Linked DNA regions of Homo sapiens: regions 1, 3, 4, 5, 6 and 7 are each linked to region 2. Evidence: promoter capture Hi-C in 16 types of primary human blood cells and fetal thymus (Javierre and others, 2016). All regions are on one chromosome and are shown on one strand. Each heading gives the region's core, a stretch centred on a gene start or on the middle of the fragment in contact. The rest is flanking DNA. Distances are from core to core; before and after follow the strand shown. Region 1 holds the start of GRIPAP1 (GRIP1 associated protein 1). Region 2 holds the start of NDUFB11 (NADH:ubiquinone oxidoreductase subunit B11). Region 3 holds the start of WDR45 (WD repeat domain 45). Region 4 holds the start of TFE3 (transcription factor binding to IGHM enhancer 3). Region 5 holds the start of PORCN (porcupine O-acyltransferase). Region 6 overlaps OTUD5 (OTU deubiquitinase 5). Region 7 holds the start of RBM3 (RNA binding motif protein 3).

Region 1 (2,700 bases), core at 183-2,682, 1.9 Mb after region 2:
TCCCTCCCACGCCACCAGCCTCCACTCACTGTTCTCTGGTAGTCTGCTCAAGGTCAGAGGGCTTGGCCTTCACAGAATCTTTCCTACTCCTGTCCTCTCCAGGACCCAGTGATCTGTCTCTCCAAGTACTGGTCCAAGTGGAATATCCTTTGTACCCCCCGAGACTTGCCCCCCAACAAAGCCCAGTAGTTCTCCCTCATTCATGGCCCAGTGGGATCAATGTTCCTCATTCAAGGGTATTCCCACTCCCCTCAAGATCTCCCCAGTCATGATCCATTGGGAATGGCCCTACACCCTTCAGGGTAGGCCTCTACAAGGCCTTGGGTAGGCCAGTTGGATGACTCTTACTCACTTAGAATCCCTTTCAGATGACAGTGGTCTTCCCCATTCATGGGTTAATCAACTCGCCCTTCCATTCTCAGTGTCCCTCACACAGGGACAGCTGGTTTCCCTCATTCAAGGACCAATTGGATTACCTGTCCTCCCTCAGAGTTCCTCCCCTCCCCATGCAGGACCCTGTTCAGACCCCCCCCCCAGTGAGGAACCCTCTCAACAAGGGCCCATTCATAGTGCAATGCTATGGCCTTTCATTGCATCTCAGAGTCCCCCCAAAAGAATCAAGTGGGGGTACCTCCCCAAAGCCCAGTGATCTTCCCTCCTTGTAGTCCAAGGTATCAATCTTTTACCCCTCTGGTCCTCCCCCCAGTTAATGGGATTAATGGTATTACCCATTCATGGCCTTCTTCACCCCAGGCCTAATGGGATCACCCTTAATCATCCAATGGTGCCGCCCCCTCTTAGGATGCACTACCAACCACCAATGGCACAGGATCTCCACCTCCCAGGAACAATGACAACATCTGGGGTCTTTCCCCAATCCCCGGGCACAGTGGTATCTCCCCCAAAACTTACCACCTCCCACCCGCTAATGGTTCTGCCCTCTCAAGGGCTCCCACCACCATGACGCAAACGACCCAACACCCGCTTCCTTCCTCTCCAGACAAAATGGTTTCGCCTTCTCAGGATCTCCTTCCCTCAAAGCCCATTATCATCACCCGCCGACGGTGTCCCCTGCACGGGCCCAAAAGTCTCGTCCCCTCCAGGTCTGAGTAAGGTACCGCCTACTTAATGGCGCTCTCCCAGCCCACAATGCTAACAGAGTCCAACCTTCAAAGCCGCAGAGTATCTCGGAATCCAATAGTCTCACCACTCCGAGCCTCAGTTTCCCTTCTCCAGACCCACCCCATAAACTCAGGGTCCATCCCAACCAACCCCTTCTCAGAGCTGATAGCACGACCTCTCGCTACCCCGCCCCCGGTCGCCTAGCCGGGTGGTCTTTCCCACCGCGAGCGGCACCTGCATCCGCTGAAACTCCTCCTCAGACAGAGCTTGCGCCATGTTCCTCCCCCCACCCCCCCGCCAGCTTTCTGCGCAGACGCAGCTCGCGCCTCCTGGCAGTATTAAGGTCGGACCAAACCACTGGCCAGGAATGGAGGGGGTAGAACCTAATTCCGAAGGGCAGCATTTTGGAGACGCAGAGAAGAGAACGAAACCGACGAGTCAGGTGAACTGTAATACAACGTTCTACCCGAATGTAAGTCATCTGATTGGCTTTTGGACTCTTCTAGGCCACCCATTGTGATACGACATTATTACATCCCCGTTTCATGGGTGGACTCGTCGCTAGGGAAGTCTTTGCCGACAGAAAATCACCCTTCCGCGGTATTCCTTTAATGAGAATGGGTAACTTAATAACCATAGAAATGAAAGCGGAAGCTTCGCTCTGGTCTTGTTCCCGCCCCTCCTCCGGGAGACCCCAAAGGGGAATCCCACCTCTTGTAAAGCCTTTGGCCTTTTTTTTTTTTTTTTTTTTTAAGGTTTGACACTTATTTTGTTATCATGATACTGCATGTCACGTTAGGTAAAGGACTTAGCCACCAATAAAAATAGCAGAGTGGAAAGAGTGACAGTGAATCAAACGAAAAAGCTACATTAAAACAAAACAAAAACAAAAAACAAACCAGGGTGGTGAAACACCAGGCTCATTCAAGTATTAGAATTCACTATAACCCTCACCGATCTGAGAGTAAGAAATGGTATCTCAGTGTAGTTTTTTTCTTATTTTCTTTTTTCTTTCTGTTTTTGTTGTTGTTGTTGTTGTTGTTTTTCTTTTTTGAGACGGAGTTTCACTTTTGTTGCCCAGGCTGGAGTGCAGTGGCACGATATCCGATCACAGCAACCTCCGCTTGGCGAGTTCAAGCGATTCTCCTGCCTCAGCCTCCCGAGTAGCTGGGATTACAGGCGCCCGCCACCTCGTCCGGGTAATTTTTTTTTTTTTTTTTAGTAGAGACGGGGTTTCTCCATATTGGTCAGGCCGGTCTCGAACTCCCGACCTCAGGTAGTCCGCCCGCCTCGGCCTCCCAGAGTGCTGGGATTAAGGCGTGAGCCACCGCGCCCAGCCTTCTTATTTTCGTAGAATTTAATGATTTCCCTGCTGTGGAAAAATATTTCCAGCAGGGCCGGGCGCGGTGGCTCACGCCTGTAATCCCAGCACTTTGGGAGGCCAAGGAGGGCTGTTCACTTGCGGTCAGGAGTTCGAGACTAACCTGGCCAACATGGTGAAACCCCATCTCTACTAAAAACACAAAAATTGGCCGGGTGTGGTGGTGGGCGCCTGTAATCCCAGCTACTCGGAAGGCT
Region 2 (2,700 bases), core at 181-2,680:
ACTACTTTGTATTATTGTTTTCTAATATTTTACTGTTTATTTTCTGTCTTCCCCACTATCATGTAAGCTCTATGAGAGCATGGGCTTTGTCTGATTTCCACACTGCTGTATCCCCAGGGCCCTGAACTGAGCCTGGCATACAGCAGGCCCTCAATACATATTTACAGAATGAACAAGCATCCTATATATCCAAGCCCCTTAACCAGAGGTTAGTATTGATGAAGTACTTATTATGTGCCAGTCTTTTCACATAGAAACACCTCACAATATCTCAGTGAGGTGAAACATGGCAATAATAAACACATTCTAGTGCTGAGTACATACTTACGAAGTGCCAGCTGCTGTTCTGACCATTTTTACTCATTTAATTACATGAGGCAGGTGGGGTGTCCTATTTTTTAGAAGGTGTCCTATTACTGTTCCCATCTTACAGACAAAGAAACTGAGGCACCAAGGGTTTATGCTACCAAGATCACACGGGTGGGTAACCGTCAGTGCTGCCTGATTTCACAGCGTCTGCTATTAATACAGCACAGCAGACCTGGTAGCCCTAAATTCAAATACCAGTTCCACCTCCACCATGTATTCAGTTATGTGAGCTAGGGCAATCCACTTAACATCTCTGTGCCTCAGTTTCCTCATCTGTAGGATGAGTATAATAATAGAGCCCACCTCGAAATGGGGTTTGTTTCGAGTATAAGATGAGCTAATGCATGTCAAGTGTTTAGAACACAGACGGGGCCCGGAGCGGTGGCTCATGCCTGTAATCCCAGCACCTTGGGAGGCCGAGGCGAGAGGATCGCTTGAGCCAGGAGTTCGAGACCAGCCTGGGCAACATAGCGAGATCTCGTCCCTATAAAAAAAAAAAAAAGAATGCAGACGGCAACGAGCAAGTGCCATATCGGTGTTTAGTATTATCGTTGTACTATACTGCTTCTAACGTGTTTTGAGCGCTGTCCACTTGAGGTGTGATTTCTGTCTGCAAAATAAAACCAATCCTGCCTCTGGCCCTGGAACGAAGATACCGAGAGACAAAGGAGGAACACAAGGTAGGCAAAATTCCCAAGTCTTCTAGGCTTTCGCCGGCCGCGCAGTCCTCTACTGCCTAAGAACGTCCTCTACAGCGCCCCATCTGCCGATCCCGGACTGACCCCTTCGGGGTTCCGTCCCCACTACCCCCCCCCCCCCCCCCGCCTCTCACCTTCTCATACAAGTTTTCGTCCTCGGGTTCTGGGTCCTCTTGCCACGGTGTGGTCGGTTCTGGGGGCCGCTTTCCCGCCACAGCGGACGGGGCGACCACAGTCCTGGAGAAGCTAGATTCCCAGCGGACGCGGGCGGCCGGGAGCCCTCGCGTCGCCGCTGCCGCCAAAAGACGGCGAGCGCTCAAACCAAACAGCCCAGCCGCCATGACAGATGGTGCTGCAGGGTCTCAGGGGCGGGGAAAGAAATGCGACTGTGCGCAGCTGCAGTGGGTGCGAGCGCGACAATCATCGCCCCGCCTCCGCCACGCTATATAGGTCCCAGATCTGATTTGGTTTTCCAATGAGGCGGGGCGTTGAGCAACCCTCTTTGCCTCCAGTTGTCGTGGCTTCGTGGGGCCAACCATTTTCGGCCAGGCTGAGAAATTTCTTATTGATGGGTCTGCTCATTTCCTGCATAGGAAGAAATCGGTGACATTTGGGTGGATACAGTTCCCAGCCAATCGCCCCGAGTTCCCTCGCCCACTGGGGAAAGAGGCAGAGCTTCCGCTAGTCTTTCATCTTCAAAGGAAATCAAGCTTCTAAAAAGCGGGCCCTGCCGAATTGGCTAATAGCTACTCCTTTTCTCCACTAGGGGAGCGTTCGCAAGGGGTGTGGGGAGGTGGCCAGCGCTTGCCAATCAGAGGAGGCCAGGGCTGTCCCCTAGCGGGCGGTGACCAATCGCCGGGGCCGGCCAGAGCGCGCTTCCTTAGTAGGTGGATGGTGGTCGGAGCGCCGACTCCCTTCTCGTCGTCGCCATTTTGAGCTGGTGACTGTGGCCGGCTGGGAGTAGGCGGCAGTGAGTTTCCCTGGGAGGGCAGCGCGCTTGGCGCTTCTCCCCTCCCCCCGATCTGCCTCCAGTCTCGGACTTGGTTGTTGCGCGCTCCGGCTCCGGCTGAGCTGGGAGAGTTGGAGGAGGTGGCGGCGGGCAGAGGTGATGTCTGGGAGCCCTTCCTTGACAGCCCGGGCCGAGAAGGTGAGCGTCGACGCTGGTCGTGGGGGCGGAGGTAAGGGGCCCGGGGCGGGGACGTAGAGGAGGCGCGAGGGCGGACTTCGGGTCGGGGGAGATGCGCGGAACGGAGGGGTTGGTGCAATGTCTCAACCCGGGAGGGTTTTTTTTTTTTTGGTTTTTTTTTTTTTTTTTTTTTTTTTTGGTGTGAGCAAAGGCGCGTGCGCGACTGGGACATGGGATGGGTGCATGCGGGTTGGGGGAAGGGAGGGACGGATGGGAGTGGGCTACTGTGGATCACTGTGTCGGCTACATCGAAGTTTATCAGTGGGGAAGCGGTTGTCTGCGACTTTGAGTTTGTGCATAGGAGAGGGGATGCTGCTCTGTGTTACTCTGGTGTTTATCGGTCCATGGGGAAATATTCTGTGGTTCTGGTCTCTATTCCTGGGGGATCGGAGGGGGGATGTGACTCTGGTCTTTACCCTTTGAGGGGGGGCGGTCTGTGACTCTGAT
Region 3 (2,700 bases), core at 148-2,647, 1.9 Mb after region 2:
CCAGCCTGGGTGACAGAGCGAGACTCCGTCTCGGGGGGAAGAAAAAGATAAAAACAGAGAGTCCCAGGGTCTCTGCTCTAAGCTCCCAAGATCCCAAACAACATGGCCAGGAACCCTCCTTCTTTCAGGTTTGGCAAGCTCCAGGCCCACACTGACGTGGACCCCACACCTCCTCTTTACATGCTGGCCCTCACTGACTTGTCAGGAAGTAATGTGATAGGGGGTGCCCCCGTGATATCTCCTCCCCACCGCCAGCCAATCTTGATCCCAATGCCAGACATGGCCTGGAACCACTCCCAACCCATTTCTCATCTTCAAACCTGACCTAGCACCGGACTCTCTCAATAAATAGACAAAAGTGGGCTAGGAGATGCACTTCTTGTACCTCCCTGACTTGGCCCTGGGACTGCTATGCTTGGTCTGCCATCCCCAGGAACTCCTCTGCTCATACCCTTCTAACTGTACCCCAACCTATTTGACCACCCCAGAGTCCTCTCACACCTTTCCCCCTCAACCGGCTTCCCCAAACTCCTTCAGGATGCCTACCTTGGGATGACCCCTTCTCATGCCTTGGTAACTACCCTTCAGGGCCAGCCTAGACATTCCCTTAGATTGGCTTATGCCCTGGGGACTCTACCCTAGGATTCCCCCTAGCACTCTAAATTTTCCACCCCTGGGACATCTCCTTCCTTGTGTTCTGCTGTCCTTGACTACAACATAACCTGGCCTGGACCCAACCCCAGGAACCCCCCCCATCCTCCTAAGATTCCCCCTCTAGACCCCTATCCAAGACCCCGCCCCAGGGCACCCTTGCCTTCTAAGACCCTTGCCCAAAACAAACCACCCAAAACTCCTACCTAGGAGAACCTCAACCCCTAAGATGCCTGCGCAGTCCCCTACTAAGATTACTGCCATAGAGCCCCCAACTTCCCTTCAAATCCTCAACTCCCCAATAACTCTGGCCAGACATACTCCCTCCCCCATCCTCCAAGAGTCCAAATCTCCTTCCTTTCTTTCAGTTACACCCTCCACTGGAATGCCTCATGCTCTTTCTTTGGACAGCTCTGCCTTAGAGTTATTCTCTGGACAGCTCCAACTTTCAACACCCCTTTTTTGCACCTCCATTCCAAGACTCTGTCCGGGATGCCTCGCCCCTCTCCCAAGACCAGCCGCATGCTCCTTCCAACGCCAGCACCCACTCAAGACCTCTGCCTTAGACCCCTACTCGAAAGACTTCCAGCCTCCCCCAGACCCAACCAACCCTGGGATCGTGCTCCAGCTTCCTGCCGCCTTCACCGGCCTGACCTCCGCGTGTCCCTGACCCGGGCCCCAGCTGTCGGTGCCGCCCGCGGCCCGGTTTTCTGACCTCCCGGGCCTTGGAGCCCGGCTCGGGTGTTTACATCAGGCCCTACTTCCGGGGGAGGGAGCCTGTCGCAGGAAATGACTCACCCCAGCTGGAAAAAGGCGGCCACCGCCTTCCTCGCCTAGTTCCCGGGTCTTCGGAGCATCGCGAGTGACAGTGGGGTTCTCCGGGGAGGGCGCGGGGAGCGGAGGAAGGTTGGCTGGGGGACCGGAGGCGAAGGGGGTTCCTCAAGGCCGAGACTGTCTGAGGGAACCCGGAAGGGTGGGGAGAGAGAGCGTGCCTTGCCCCCAGCAAAGCGAAACCGGCCAAGCCCTCAGCCCCTTGGTCACCCACAATGGGGGAGTAAACCTTCCCTGCTAACAAGACGCGGACCTCCGCGGCGGCCGAGAGTAGCCGCCCCGGTTCGCAACACACAGTCCTCCCAGGCTTCCAGAGGGGCGGCGCTGGGGGTTACAGGCGGGGGCGGACCTGGAGACCTTGAAAGTGGAGAAACCTCCTTGGCTCCGGGAAGCCAAGGAACAGATTTCGCTTTCTTTCTCCCCACCCTGTCCCCCCAACCCCGCCAGCTCTGAGTTTTGTCTTTTGTGTTTTGTTTAGTTTTGTTTTCTGAGACAGAGTCTCGCTCTGTCTCCCAGGCTGGAGTGCAGTGGCGCGATCTCGGCTCACTGCAACCTCCGCCTCCCGGGTTCAAACGGTTATCCTGCCTCAGCCTCCGGAGTAGCTGGGACTGCAGGCGTGCGCCACCACGCCCATCTAATTTTTGTATTTTTAGTAGAGACGGGGTTTCACCATGTTGGTCAGGCTGGTCTCGAACTCTTGACCTCAGGTTATCCACCCACCTCGGCCTCCCAAAGTGCTGGGATTACAGGCTTAAGCTACCACGCCCGGCCTCTGCTTTTATTTTTACAAAATACAAAATAGCTTTTTGATAGTAAAAGGTATGAATGCTTTGGGTTAAAAAAAAAAAAAAAAAGAGGTCCTACCTATGATAAAGCTTTTAAAAAAAGGCCCCAAATTATATGCATACTGGAAGGAATTTTTTTTTTTTTTTTTTTTTTTGATTAACAGAGTTTGGCTCTTTTTGCCCAGGCTGGAGTGCAATTAGCGCGATCTTGGCTCACCACAACCTCCGCCTCCCGGGTTCAAGGGATTCTTCTGCCTCAGCCTCCCCAGCCTCCCAAGTAGCTGGGATTACAGGCATGTGCCACCACGCCCAGCTAATTTTGTATTTTTAGTAGAGACCGGGTTTCTCCCTGTTGATCAGTCTGGTCTTGAACTCCTGACCTCAGGTGATCCGCCTGCCTCGGCCCCCCAAAGTGTTGGGATTACAGGCGTGA
Region 4 (2,700 bases), core at 27-2,526, 1.9 Mb after region 2:
GAGCAGGGAGGGCTGGGGCTCCAAAGCCCATTGATGAAAGTAAGGATGAGAAGAGGCCAGAGGGGATCCACCCAGGCAGGGATGGTGCAATCTGTACTCGTTCCAGCTCTATGGACAGATTCAAGATTACCCCCAGGAGCTCGGAGATCGAAAAGAAGATAAAAAGAAAAGGGGTGTGGGGCTAGGGAGTGGGAAGGGCTGAGAGGCTAGAGCGAGTAGCAGCATGAACAAGAGCCTCCTCTGGGTTCCCAAACAAGGTCTGAGGCCTCTGAGCTAAGAGGTAACATCATCGCCCTCTGCCTGGCTGTCTATCTTCCATTCAGGCCCTTAACAGGTGTGGGAAGAGGGCTTTTCCACTATCCTTGGGATCTGCCCCAGCTGGGTAGGCGGGCAGAGGGGAAAGGATTATTCTGGTCAAGTCTTGCTGAATGTTGCTTCTCTTGTTCATTCACACGCACTCACAAGGCTGGTCCCAGGCAGCATATCTGAGATACCTCCAAATCCCTCCAGATTCATGTTATCCCCAAACACAGCAACCAGTCACTGAGAGGCACCAAGCTCCCAAGACAGCACTTCTGTCCCTCAGGACCCCTTCTCCCACACTGAGGGAAAAAAGATTCTAGGATTCCCTTAAAACCAGTGCCTCACCTGACAGTGTCCCCTCAAATTCATTCCCCTCATGTCCGACTGAAAATCCCCGAATTCAGCCTCTAATCAGAGACCCTGTCTACCAAGTTCAGCTATCTCAGACCAGTTTCTGGATACTCCAGAATAGGCCCCTCTAGACGCAGTCAAGGGCTCCCCAAACCTGACCCAGACCCCGCTTAATGCACTCCCACGACTCCTTTAATAAAGCCACAATCCAAGCAGGCCACTGCCGGATTCCTTAGGTGCCCCCCCAAGACGGGCGCCCCGACGTCCTCCAAGGCTAGGCCGAGGGCCTCCAATCCCAGTCCGGGGCCCCCACTGCCCCCGAGATCAGGCCCCTGGGAGCCCCAGTCGGCACTCCCAGCCCCAGGCGGCCCCGCACCTGAGCAGCTGAGCCGAGTCGGCCGGCCTGCGCTCCTCCAACAGCACGAACACGGCTCGAGGGCCCTCCGCGCTGGCCTCTACGCCATCCCGAGCTGGTTCGGCCGCATGAGACATGACGCCCGGCCCCGGGCGAGCCCTGCCAGGCCGGTCGGGCCTCGGCCCGGTCCCCCTAACAAAATAAGAGTCCCCCCTCCCCCCAGCTCGCCACCGCCGCCTCCTCCGCTAAGCCATGGAGCTAGCACTGCGCGGGCGGGCGGCGTCGGGGAGATGGGATGGGCTGTGAGTCATCCCCCGCCCAGAACGGACCGACGCCCCCCCTCAACCTAACCCCGGACGACCGCCCTCCTCCCCCTCGTCTTCTTCCCCCTCCTCCCTCCTCCCAGGGATGGGGAAACTCCACAGGAAGTGACCGCACTGGGGATGGATGGCCCGTCTGGCCACGACCCATTAGCGAGGCGGCCAATCGCTGAACGGCGATTCGAGGGCCCACCCTAAGCGACGCCTCCGACGCGGAGGAAAAACGCGATTCGGCCCGCCCTCATTCCGAGAAGCAGCACCCAGACCACGCCCTCAGGGGCAGCGACAAATAGGCGAGGGTTGATTTGGTTGAACCACGCCTCTATGTTTGCGTCGCTTTCGGAGCCACGCCCTCTCTTCTCAAATTATCCCTCTGCAAGGTAATATTAAGCCGCTCCTTGGGTCCTCTGCGCCTGCGCATCGATGGCCAGTCGGCGCACGGAGGGTCTCCTGGCCAAGCTTTTAGCTGCGGAACCGCGCCCTCTTTCGGCCAATATTTGTAATATCTGAGCCCTAGACCGCGCTCCAACCTCGATCTGGCTGTGCTCTCTCAGCCAAAGCCATAACTATGAGGCAGAGGCAGCTACATTCCCTGAAGGTGCGGGCCAGAAACCCCCCCCTTTCGCTGTCCGCAGTCCAGCCGCCCAGCTGGTCTTCCGGGAGTATTCCGCCTGTTCCATGCCATCGAGAGCGGTTGTACTATGTTCATTGCGCTGCGCAATATGTGCTTAATAAATTCTTGACGGGTGAATGAATCTGGTCCCTTCGGTGAATGACGACTTCTGGAATCACAAAGATCCAGGTTTGAATAGGGAAGGGGACCTCCCCTCTCCCAGCCTCAGCTTTCCTGGCCTGTTAAATGGGGGTCAAAATACCTGTCTGGCAGGGTTGTTCTGAGGATTAAAGATAATGTATGAAAAGTGCTAGCAGGTTGTTTGGCATACAAGAAGCTTCCCAAAATTAGTTGATTCACTCATTTGTTCACTTATTCAACATTCACTGAGCGCTTCTGTATGCCAGACGCATGCAAGCCGGCTCGCACAAGGCGGAGGGTCTCACTCATATATCCTCAGGTGCAAATAGCTCACAAAACACCCAGACCTACAGCCTTCCCTTCCTCTTTCCTGACATCCCAAGACCCCACCCTGAGTTGCGCCTCCAGGAATTTCACCGGGCTTTCATTTACCTTGGACCTTCCTGTATTGGCATCATTATTTCACAGGTCTGTCAGTTGCTTTCGTAAACTCATCCATACTCACACACAACCATCTCGTACAAGGGGGAAACCTCTACATAATAAAGATGACTTCTGGCCGGGCGCGGTGGCTCATGCCTGTAATCCCAGCACTTTGGGAGGCCGAGGCGGGTGGA
Region 5 (2,700 bases), core at 129-2,628, 1.4 Mb after region 2:
ACATAAATCTTTAGTGTTGGTGCAGATAGAGGTGCGGATGGGGCCAGTGTAAGCGCTTTCTTTTTTATTTTATTTATTTATTTATTTAGAGAAGGAGTTTCGCTCTTGTTTATTTATTTATTTATTTTGGAGAAGGAGTTTTGCTCTTGTCACCCAGGCTGGAGTGCAATGGCGTGATCTCGGCTCACTGCAACCTCCGTCTCCTGGGCTCAAGTGATTCTCCTGCCTCAGCCTCCGGAGTAGCTGGGATTACAGGCGCCCAGCTAAATTTTTTGTATTTTTAGTAGAGACAGGGTTTCGCCATATTGGCCAGCCTGGTCTCAAACTCATGACCTCAGGTGATCCATCCGCCTCGGCCTTCCAAAGTGCTGGGTTACAGGTGTGAGCCACCACGCCCAGTCTTTATTTATTTATTTTGAGACGGAGTTTCGCTCTTGTAGCCCACAATGACGCGATCTTGGCTCACTGCAACCTCTGCCTCCTGATTCTCCTGCTTTAACCTCCCGAGTAGCTGGGATTACAAGCGTGCGCCACCACGCCTGGCTAATTTTTGTATTTTTAGTAGAGACGGGGTTTCGCCATGTTGGCCAGGCTGGTCTCGAACTCCTGACCTCAAGCTATCCTCCTACCCTTGGCCTCCCGAAGTGCTGGGTTTATAGGCGTGAGCCACCGAGCCTGGCCCTTAAGAGCTTTATAAATGCCCCCCTTTTAAGTGCTCGGTACTAGCCTCCCTCTAGTTCACAGAGAACATTTACTAGTCGCTGGGGTCACCTTCGAAGCAAAGAGTCTGCTGGGGAATTAAGCATGCAAATCACTTCTCAACGACGACACGCCAAGTGCTCACAGCTCGTCCCCAGGGGAAGCACAGGCGCCTAATTTGTGTTCCTAGGTGACACAGTCATTACTTATAAATGTTCCTGGCCGGTCCCAGGAGGTGGGAGGGTTGGGAGTTACTTCGGTTCTCTCAAAGGTTGGGGAAGGAGAGATCTCGGTTTGTTTTCCCATCTGTGAAACGGGGACACCACGGTATTTAGAGGACGTGCGCGGGTGACTATTTGGGGGTGCAGCGGCTTCCCTCCTCCCTCCCCCATCTTTCCCTTCTCACTTCCAAGGCTTGGAAATTTGGAGATTCGGAAGTTTGTTCTTGGATGGCCAGAAATCCTCCGGAGGCAGACGGTCTGGGGCTGAAACCGCCACAGGCCGGAAAGGTGCGGGCGTGAACGTCCTGCGCGCCGACGTCCCCCCGCGCCGGTCTCCCCTCAATCCTCCTGCTCCCCTCCTCCGCGTCCCCGTCCCCGCCCCCCTCCTGCTCTCCCATTGGCCGAGCCGGCGGCCGGGCCGCCCCGGGATTTAAAGGGCCCGCTCGCCGCGCCGCTCTGGGAGCCGCTGCTGGTCCCGGCCTTGCGGCCTGCGGGGGAGGCTGCCCGGAGGAGGCAGCGGCGGCGGCAGCGCGTCCTCGGTCCCCAGGACCACGGCTTCTTTCCTGCCAGGTAGGTCGCCAGTAGTGCGCACGCGGCTCCCCAGCTCCCATCCCTGGGCCGGCCTCCCCAGGCGGATCTGTAGCGCGAGTGCTAGGACCCCCTCCCCATCACCTTTCCGACTCTCCCTCAGGCTATGTCTCCTACCACCACCTCCTTGCAGCCCCCGGACCTGGGCAGGACTTTGTTGGCGGCCTCTCGCCGGGTGGGGATGAGATGGGGGGCGCGGAGGATACAGGACACCCCCCCTCCCCGTGCCGCCGCATCCATACAAGGAGAGATGCACACGGCCCCCAAGTGTCACAGAATCCCCCTCTCTGCCCTCCACTCAGAGCGACTCTACCTTGGAAACCAGGGATTCCCCTTCCCGTCGCCCGCCCCATTTGATATATGGGCCTGAAATGTATGCCATCCCATCACCATCGGACTGGACTGTTCACAGCACTGGAGAGACAGAGGTCCTTCATTCACTCCAGGTCACAGGCTGTGCGTGTGCATGCCGAACACCCACATGCACACAGTTGGTGGCTCAGTCTGATGTACCTGACTTCTCACGCCTTCCCCCAGTCCTCCAGTACCGTGCCTCTACATGGGCTGGGCAGCCCCAAACTGAAATGTGAGTGCCAGAGTGCATCCTTTAAGCGAGGTCTGCCCCACGGACACCCGCTCCCTCTGTGTCCCTGCTTTGACAGATCTATCCATCTGGCCATCCATCCGTGGGGGTCTGCAATGGCCACCTTTAGCCGCCAGGAATTTTTCCAGCAGCTACTGCAAGGCTGTCTCCTGCCTACTGCCCAGCAGGGCCTTGACCAGATCTGGCTGCTCCTTGCCATCTGCCTCGCCTGCCGCCTCCTCTGGAGGCTCGGTAAGTGCCTGCCATACCGTGTGCCACCATGCCAGGCCATATCAGACCTCCCACATTCATCCATATCGAGCCACACCTTACCCTGTCACATCCTGCCAGGCCCTAGCATGTCCAAGCTGGACCCCAACATGTTCAGCCCCACCACATCCCACCAGGCCAAACCCCATTCCACCATACCACATCCTACTATGCCAGCCACCCCATGCCATGCCACACCGAGCCACATCCTGCCATGCCAAGCCATGCCCTTCAGTATTCCTGAGTTCTGGGATTCCAGAAAGCTGAGATTCTTGGATCTTGGGATTCTGAAATGTCTACATCCCAAGGTTATAAGACATTGGCATGCTGATGTCACAG
Region 6 (2,700 bases), core at 200-2,699, 1.8 Mb after region 2:
AGCTTGTCAAAAGCAGTTCAAAACTTATTATATGACCTAGAGGTGAGAAGCAAGCATAGCTAGGTCAGGGAGAGACTCGGAATCGCTCTTGGTTTCAGAAGGGAGGCTCCAGACTCCATGTCCCCAGGACCTGACAATCTTCTCATAGAAAGTAGGAGGACCTTCTTGGCCCTGGCCACGAGGGAGCTCTGGATAAGGGGTTCATATGACCCTGAAGAGCATCCAGGTCCTTCTGTCCAATGGGAGAGGATGACCTCACGTTCCTCTCCCTGGACAGAAAGGATTGCCTGGTGTGGTAGGAGGAGAGCCTCATGCCCAAGTGGGAGCCAGGCCCCCAGTCCCTAAGGCAAACGGTATCTTGTCCCAGAGAGAAAGCTTGGGCCCAGACTCTTTTCCTCAGAATCCTACCCTATTCATGTCCCCAAAAGGAGTTGGGAGTCTAAGGCCCAAGTCCCCGAGGCAGGAAGTCTTATGTCCCTAAATGACCCCTAAGACTAGGGTGTATGTAAGTTGTCTGAGGTGAGGTGACAGTACCCTCAGGGCAGGTTCAGAAATCAGGTCCTAAGGTGGGGAACAGGCCTTCACACACCTGAGTTATGATTCAAACCCTTGGAGGTAGACTCAGGACCCTGTTCCACAGGGATCCTTTATCCATGCCCCAAGGGAAGAGTCTCAGGGCTCAGGTCTGGGGGGAGGAGTCCTCCTGTTTCTCAGGTGTACATCTTAAGTTCCTTGAGGAGGAAGCTCAGACCTTACCTCTAGACACACAAGTCACCAAGGTATGTATGAGTCTCCTGTCCCTGAAGGAAAGCTCAAGTGTCCTTGGCAGAGTGGGTCTCAGGCCCTTAAAAGTAGGCAAAGATCTGTAGGGAGGCCCCAGACATCATCTCTGGGATCCCATGTTGCCCATGTCCCCTGAGTAGTCGTCTCAGGCTCAAGTTCCCAAGGCATGGGTCGTATGTCCCTGACAAAAAGCTTAGGCCCAAGGTGGGAGGGCCTCAAACCCCTGTTACAGAGGGGAAAATGGGATACTGTATCCCCAAGGTATGTTTCAGTTCCTTATAATTGGGGTAAAAGGGTCACATATGCTCGTGGGGTGGGGAGTCTCAGATCCCCAAAACCACTCAGACACCAGCCTTGAGAAGAAGGATCTCCTAAAGACTTCACCTTGTCTGAGACCTTTGCAGCAGGACACCAGGCCCCTGAAGAGGCCTCAGACTCGGTCTCTAAAAACCTCAGTCCATAAGCAGGTGGATCTTAGGCCCTAGGATCCAACGCTGTGAGTCTCATTTTCCTGAAGAAAGGTTCAGGCCCCTGGTGGGGGTGCTGAGGGCCCATCTCTTCTTACAAGAAGCTTAAGATCCTGAAGCGGTTCAGGCCCTTGTCTCCCAAGAGGTAGGTCTCAGGCCACTGATAGGAAATGCAGACCTTTGTCACTCAGAAAGGAGATAAGTAAAGCTGCTGGTCATTGGGTGTTGGTTTTGGTCCCTGTCCCCAAGGGCAAGGGAATCATATCTCCCTGTGAAAAGTCTTACATCCCTGGAAAAAGCTTAGAAGATCCCTATCCTTAAAGGGGGCGTGTGTGTGTGTGTGTGTGTCAGGACCTTGATTCTAGAAGCAGGACTCTCAGGCCCCTGAAGACAGACTTAGGACCCTTGAGGTCTCAGGTCTGGCTATTCAGTGGTCCTGTGCAGTGTTACCCAGCGAAGCGGGAGAGGATTGTCCTATATGCAGAGTGTCTCAGACTCTTGAAAGGGCTTAGGCTCCTTGGGGATGTTCAGCCCCGATCTCCGAGGTCTCCACCTTATTTGACTTTCCTGGAAGGGGAATCTCAAACTTCTATCCCAGAGGAAAAGAGCTCTTAAGCCACTGAACACATACCTAAGTCTCTTGGGAGACCTGAGACTCCTACTCAAGAGGGGCGCGATCCTACCTGTATCTCTTGGAGAATTCCCACCTATTGGCCCTATATGATGAGGTCCCAGGGACTGGAATGACGACTATAGACCTTAAAAGAGACCTCGGATCTTTAAGTCTGACACCTTACCGTAGGCCTCTAGCCCCAAAATCCTGGAGGGGAGGAAAGAAGGTGTCTCACATCCCTACCGCCAGAGAAGACTGTCAGGCCCAGTGAAAACGCCTAGATCCCTTGGGGCGATCTCAAACAGCCTTCCTTGAGTCCCTTCACAGTCTGGGGGTCCCATCTGCCGTGGCCGCTCACCCCTCACCCCACAGCTCTTACCTGCTCGACAGTGGCAGGGTCCATAGCCTCGATGCGTGCTGCAGCCGCCTCATACTCGTCCTCACTGTTGTAGCCTGCGCCGACCTCCTCACGCTCGGGACTGCCCCCGCCAACCGCGCCAACCCCGGGAGCTTGACGTCGCCGCTTGCTGTGCCCAGGCCCGGAGCAGCAGCCGCCCACGCCTACGGCACCACCCACACCCACCACCACGCCCGCGGCACCCACACCCGCCGCCGCTGCGCCCAGCGCGTCGCCGGGACCGCCGCCGGGACCACCTGGGCCCCCGCAAGGAGGTGGAGAAGCCTGTTGTGGCCGGGGACCCGCCACTGCACCAGGCGGCACGGCCAGCGCCCAGCGATGAAGAGCGCCCGGCGGTCCTGGTAGCGGGCCTTGAGGCGGTGGCGAAGCTCGCGGACGGGCCCCCACGACGCCGGAGTCACGGTCGCGATCGCCGCCGC
Region 7 (2,700 bases), core at 147-2,646, 1.4 Mb after region 2:
TTTTTTGAGACTGAGTCTTGCTCTGTCGCCCAAGCTGGAGTGCAGTGGCATGATCTCAGCTCACTGCAACCTCCACCTCCCGGGTTCAAGCGATTATCCCGCCTCAGCCTCCTGAGTAGCTGGGACTACAGGTGCCTACCACCACGCCCGGCTAATTTTTTTTTTTTTTTGTATTGTTAGTAGAGACAGGGTTTCACCATATTGGCCAGGGTAGTCTTGAACTCCTGACCTTGTGATCTGCCCACTTCGGCCTCCCAAAGTGCTGGGATTACAGGCATGAGCCACTGCGCCCGGCAAGGGCTCAGTTACTTTCGAAGAGAGCAAAAATTGCTCTATGGATTGGGATTTACAACCTCTGAAGATCGTAGCATCCTCTTTTGTTTTGTTTTGTTTTCACCCAGGCTGGAGTGCAATGGCGTGGTCTCGGCTCACTGCAACCTCCGCCTCCCGGGTTCAAGCGATTTTCCAGCCTCAGCCTCCCGAGTAGGTGGGACTACAGGCACGTGCCACCACACCCAGCTAATTTTTTTTTTCTTTTTTTTTTTTTTTTTTTTTTTTTGTATTTTTAGTAGAGATGGGGTTTCACCATGTTGGCCATGCAGGTCTCGAACTCCTGAACTCGTGAACCGCCCGCTTTGGCCTCCCAAAGTGCTGGGAATACAGGCGTGAGCCACCGCGCCCGGCCAGCATCCTGTTTTGTAAAAGCCATCTCAGGCAGTCTATTGGTGAGAAAATTAAGGGGCTGGCTTCACGCCAGCAGTCAGACAAGGGTGAGGGCTGAAGTCAGAGATGAGATGGAATGACGCCAGGGAAAAGGGTCCCATGACAGGCGGCTAGATGTTGAGCACAGAGGAGAAAGAGTAGGAGTCAGGGTCAAACCTTAAAACGTTGGGTCTGACATCATGGACTGTGAAGGGTGATGACATCAGTGACGGTGGGGGATAAAATGTCAGGCCTTTAAAGGGTATGAGGTTAAAGAACTAGAAGGTGAAGGAGGTTAACATCAGAGAATGGCAGGGACCTAGAGGAAGACGACTACGATGGTGAGGAAGACATCCGATCCAGCGGGGGAAATGATGGCAAGGACGGGAGGATGATGTCAGGGACAGCAAGTAGTATGAGATTGAGAAGGTTCCTTTGTGGAAGGGATAAAGGCAGCTCAGCCGGTTGTGGGGGGGATGCTGACGTTTAGGGTGCACCAGCTGTTCAAAAGTCGACCCCATTTCCGGAAACACCCCATTTCCGGAAACACCCCATTTCGCGGAGAACACTGCTCCCTTCGCTTTGCTGTCCCTTCCTCTCCCCACCACTCCGCTCCTGCTGGCCTCAGCCAATCAGCACGCACGCCGGGACGCGCAAGGGGAACGTTCCGGGACGTTCTCGCTACGTACTCTTTATCAATCGTCTTCCGGCGCAGCCCCGTCCCTGTTTTTTGTGCTCCTCCGAGCTCGCTGTTCGTCCGGGTTTTTTACGTTTTAATTTCCAGGTAAGTTGCATATGTCCTGCGAAACGGCGGCTCCTCGCCACACACGCGCCGCGCCGGCCGTGACCGGGGAATAGCGAGTGGGGAGAGTAATGGCCACTGACACGTAGGCTTGGCTTTCTCTGGGACGGGCGGGTCCCGTGCTTGGAGGTGAAACATTTCGGTTGGTGGGAGGCCGGCGCGCTGTATCTGAGTGTGAGGCCTACCGGGAGGGACTGGTGGCGTCGGTGGTGGCAGTGACCACGCGACAGCCGACACTTACTTTCCTTATCCCACGTGGCCGCCGCCATCTTGTTCTGCCGGCGTTAAGGGAACGCAGGGATGTTCTGGGCTTGCGCAGTGGCACAAAATGACGGGCGTGGCGGCTATGAATGTGAGAGCATGCGCAATGTGGCCCCCTAATGGTGGCTGCGCTGAGCCAGCTCCTCAGATTACCACCTTATTGGCCGCCTTTCTCAGCTTTTCTGTAGTTACCCATATTTTGTTCCTCTTTCTTGTCTATTTTCTGTGCTTTTTCTCTGCTTTCCGTCTCGCTATTTTCTCACATCTCCATTTTCTTTCTCCTTCCTGCCACCATTCTTCATGTTCTTCCCACAGGACTTGAACTGCCATGTCCTCTGAAGAAGGAAAGCTCTTCGTGGGAGGGCTCAACTTTAACACCGACGAGCAGGCACTGGAAGACCACTTCAGCAGTTTCGGACCTATCTCTGAGGGTGAGACGGGCCATACTCACAATGGGGGTTGGTGAGAGAAAGTCTGGGATCCTTGCATTTCAAGGAGTATTAACTGAAAAGTTAGGACCCACGCCTCCAAATTCTTTTTCTTCCTAAGCCTATGGTGTAGACTAAGGATGAGGGGAAGCGTCTTTGGGATTAGTGGGAGCGCTCCGTTTTCCCTACCTATGCCATCTCCTTTTCCGGCCACCCTTTGCTACTTAACCTTTGGGGTACTGACTGGTCCACATTGCTCCATCTTCTCTCCCTCTCACAGTGGTCGTTGTCAAGGACCGGGAGACTCAGCGGTCCAGGGGTTTTGGTTTCATCACCTTCACCAACCCAGAGCATGCTTCAGTTGCCATGAGAGCCATGAACGGAGAGGTGGGGCCTCCTATCTGCAGAGGGACCTTGTCCCCATCTGCGGCTTCCTTCATTCTTTTTGTTTTTCCCTCTGTGTCTGCTCGGGGCAGCGTGGCCACCAAGCCCCGCAGTGCCCACTCA

Evidence for each region. The method cuts DNA at HindIII sites, captures the fragments that hold promoters and counts their contacts. A CHiCAGO score of 5 or more calls a contact.
Region 1: the fragment with the promoter of GRIPAP1 here is called in contact with the fragment with the promoter of NDUFB11 in region 2 in 9 of 17 cell types (total B cells, total CD8 T cells, naive CD4 T cells and 6 more); the score reaches 17.6 in total B cells.
Region 3: the fragment with the promoter of WDR45 here is called in contact with the fragment with the promoter of NDUFB11 in region 2 in 4 of 17 cell types (neutrophils, naive CD4 T cells, non-activated CD4 T cells and 1 more); the score reaches 8.4 in neutrophils.
Region 4: the fragment with the promoter of TFE3 here is called in contact with the fragment with the promoter of NDUFB11 in region 2 in 5 of 17 cell types (monocytes, activated CD4 T cells, non-activated CD4 T cells and 2 more); the score reaches 9.4 in monocytes.
Region 5: the fragment with the promoter of PORCN here is called in contact with the fragment with the promoter of NDUFB11 in region 2 in 1 of 17 cell types (activated CD4 T cells); the score reaches 6.4 in activated CD4 T cells.
Region 6: a fragment that was not itself captured here is called in contact with the fragment with the promoter of NDUFB11 in region 2 in 1 of 17 cell types (non-activated CD4 T cells); the score reaches 6.8 in non-activated CD4 T cells.
Region 7: a contact is called between the fragment with the promoter of RBM3 here and the fragment with the promoter of NDUFB11 in region 2, in 1 of 17 cell types (total CD8 T cells). The highest score is 6.6, in total CD8 T cells.

The regions. Positions count from the first base shown.
Region 1 is chrX:49,000,832-49,003,531 of GRCh38, forward strand. It overlaps GRIPAP1 (GRIP1 associated protein 1), which reads right to left and starts at 1,433. Exons shown (of 26, transcript NM_020137.5): 1 at 1,357-1,433. The coding sequence starts at 1,398. RefSeq lists an enhancer at 1,442-1,551. The HindIII fragment of the contact is 9,873 bases long and covers 1-1,774 here.
Region 2 is chrX:47,143,272-47,145,971 of GRCh38, forward strand. NDUFB11 (NADH:ubiquinone oxidoreductase subunit B11) reads right to left here and starts at 1,431. Exons shown (of 3, transcript NM_001135998.3): 1 at 1,202-1,431. The coding sequence starts at 1,408. RBM10 (RNA binding motif protein 10) reads left to right here and starts at 1,950. Exons shown (of 24, transcript NM_005676.5): 1 at 1,950-2,214. RefSeq lists an enhancer at 1,974-2,243. The HindIII fragment of the contact is 2,886 bases long and covers 1-1,775 here.
Region 3 is chrX:49,078,490-49,081,189 of GRCh38, forward strand. WDR45 (WD repeat domain 45) reads right to left here and starts at 1,398. Exons shown (of 11, transcript NM_001029896.2): 1 at 1,262-1,398. RefSeq lists enhancers at 1,349-1,849, 1,561-1,855 and silencers at 1,561-1,855, 2,098-2,167. The HindIII fragment of the contact is 3,362 bases long and covers 1-2,355 here.
Region 4 is chrX:49,042,081-49,044,780 of GRCh38, forward strand. TFE3 (transcription factor binding to IGHM enhancer 3) reads right to left here and starts at 1,277. Exons shown (of 10, transcript NM_006521.6): 1 at 1,031-1,277. The coding sequence starts at 1,146. RefSeq lists an enhancer at 603-1,466 and a silencer at 1,008-1,247. The HindIII fragment of the contact is 3,845 bases long and covers 1-1,786 here.
Region 5 is chrX:48,507,614-48,510,313 of GRCh38, forward strand. It overlaps PORCN (porcupine O-acyltransferase), which reads left to right and starts at 1,379. Exons shown (of 15, transcript NM_203475.3): 1 at 1,379-1,490; 2 at 2,171-2,343. The coding sequence starts at 2,208. PORCN-DT (PORCN divergent transcript) reads right to left here and starts at 1,226. Exons shown (of 2, transcript NR_135596.1): 1 at 1,106-1,226. RefSeq lists a silencer at 1,206-1,605. The HindIII fragment of the contact is 7,257 bases long and covers 1-2,700 here.
Region 6 is chrX:48,954,735-48,957,434 of GRCh38, forward strand. It overlaps OTUD5 (OTU deubiquitinase 5), which reads right to left. Exons shown (of 9, transcript NM_001136157.2): 1 at 2,243-2,700. Among named protein-coding and RNA genes, the nearest start is that of OTUD5, 1.5 kb to the right of the region's middle. RefSeq lists a silencer at 2,490-2,549. The HindIII fragment of the contact is 195 bases long and covers 1,353-1,547 here.
Region 7 is chrX:48,573,088-48,575,787 of GRCh38, forward strand. It overlaps RBM3 (RNA binding motif protein 3), which reads left to right and starts at 1,397. Exons shown (of 7, transcript NM_006743.5): 1 at 1,397-1,486; 2 at 2,081-2,196; 3 at 2,474-2,580. The coding sequence starts at 2,094. RefSeq lists a cis regulatory region at 530-1,515 and enhancers at 1,272-2,471, 1,455-1,724. The HindIII fragment of the contact is 13,325 bases long and covers 1-2,700 here.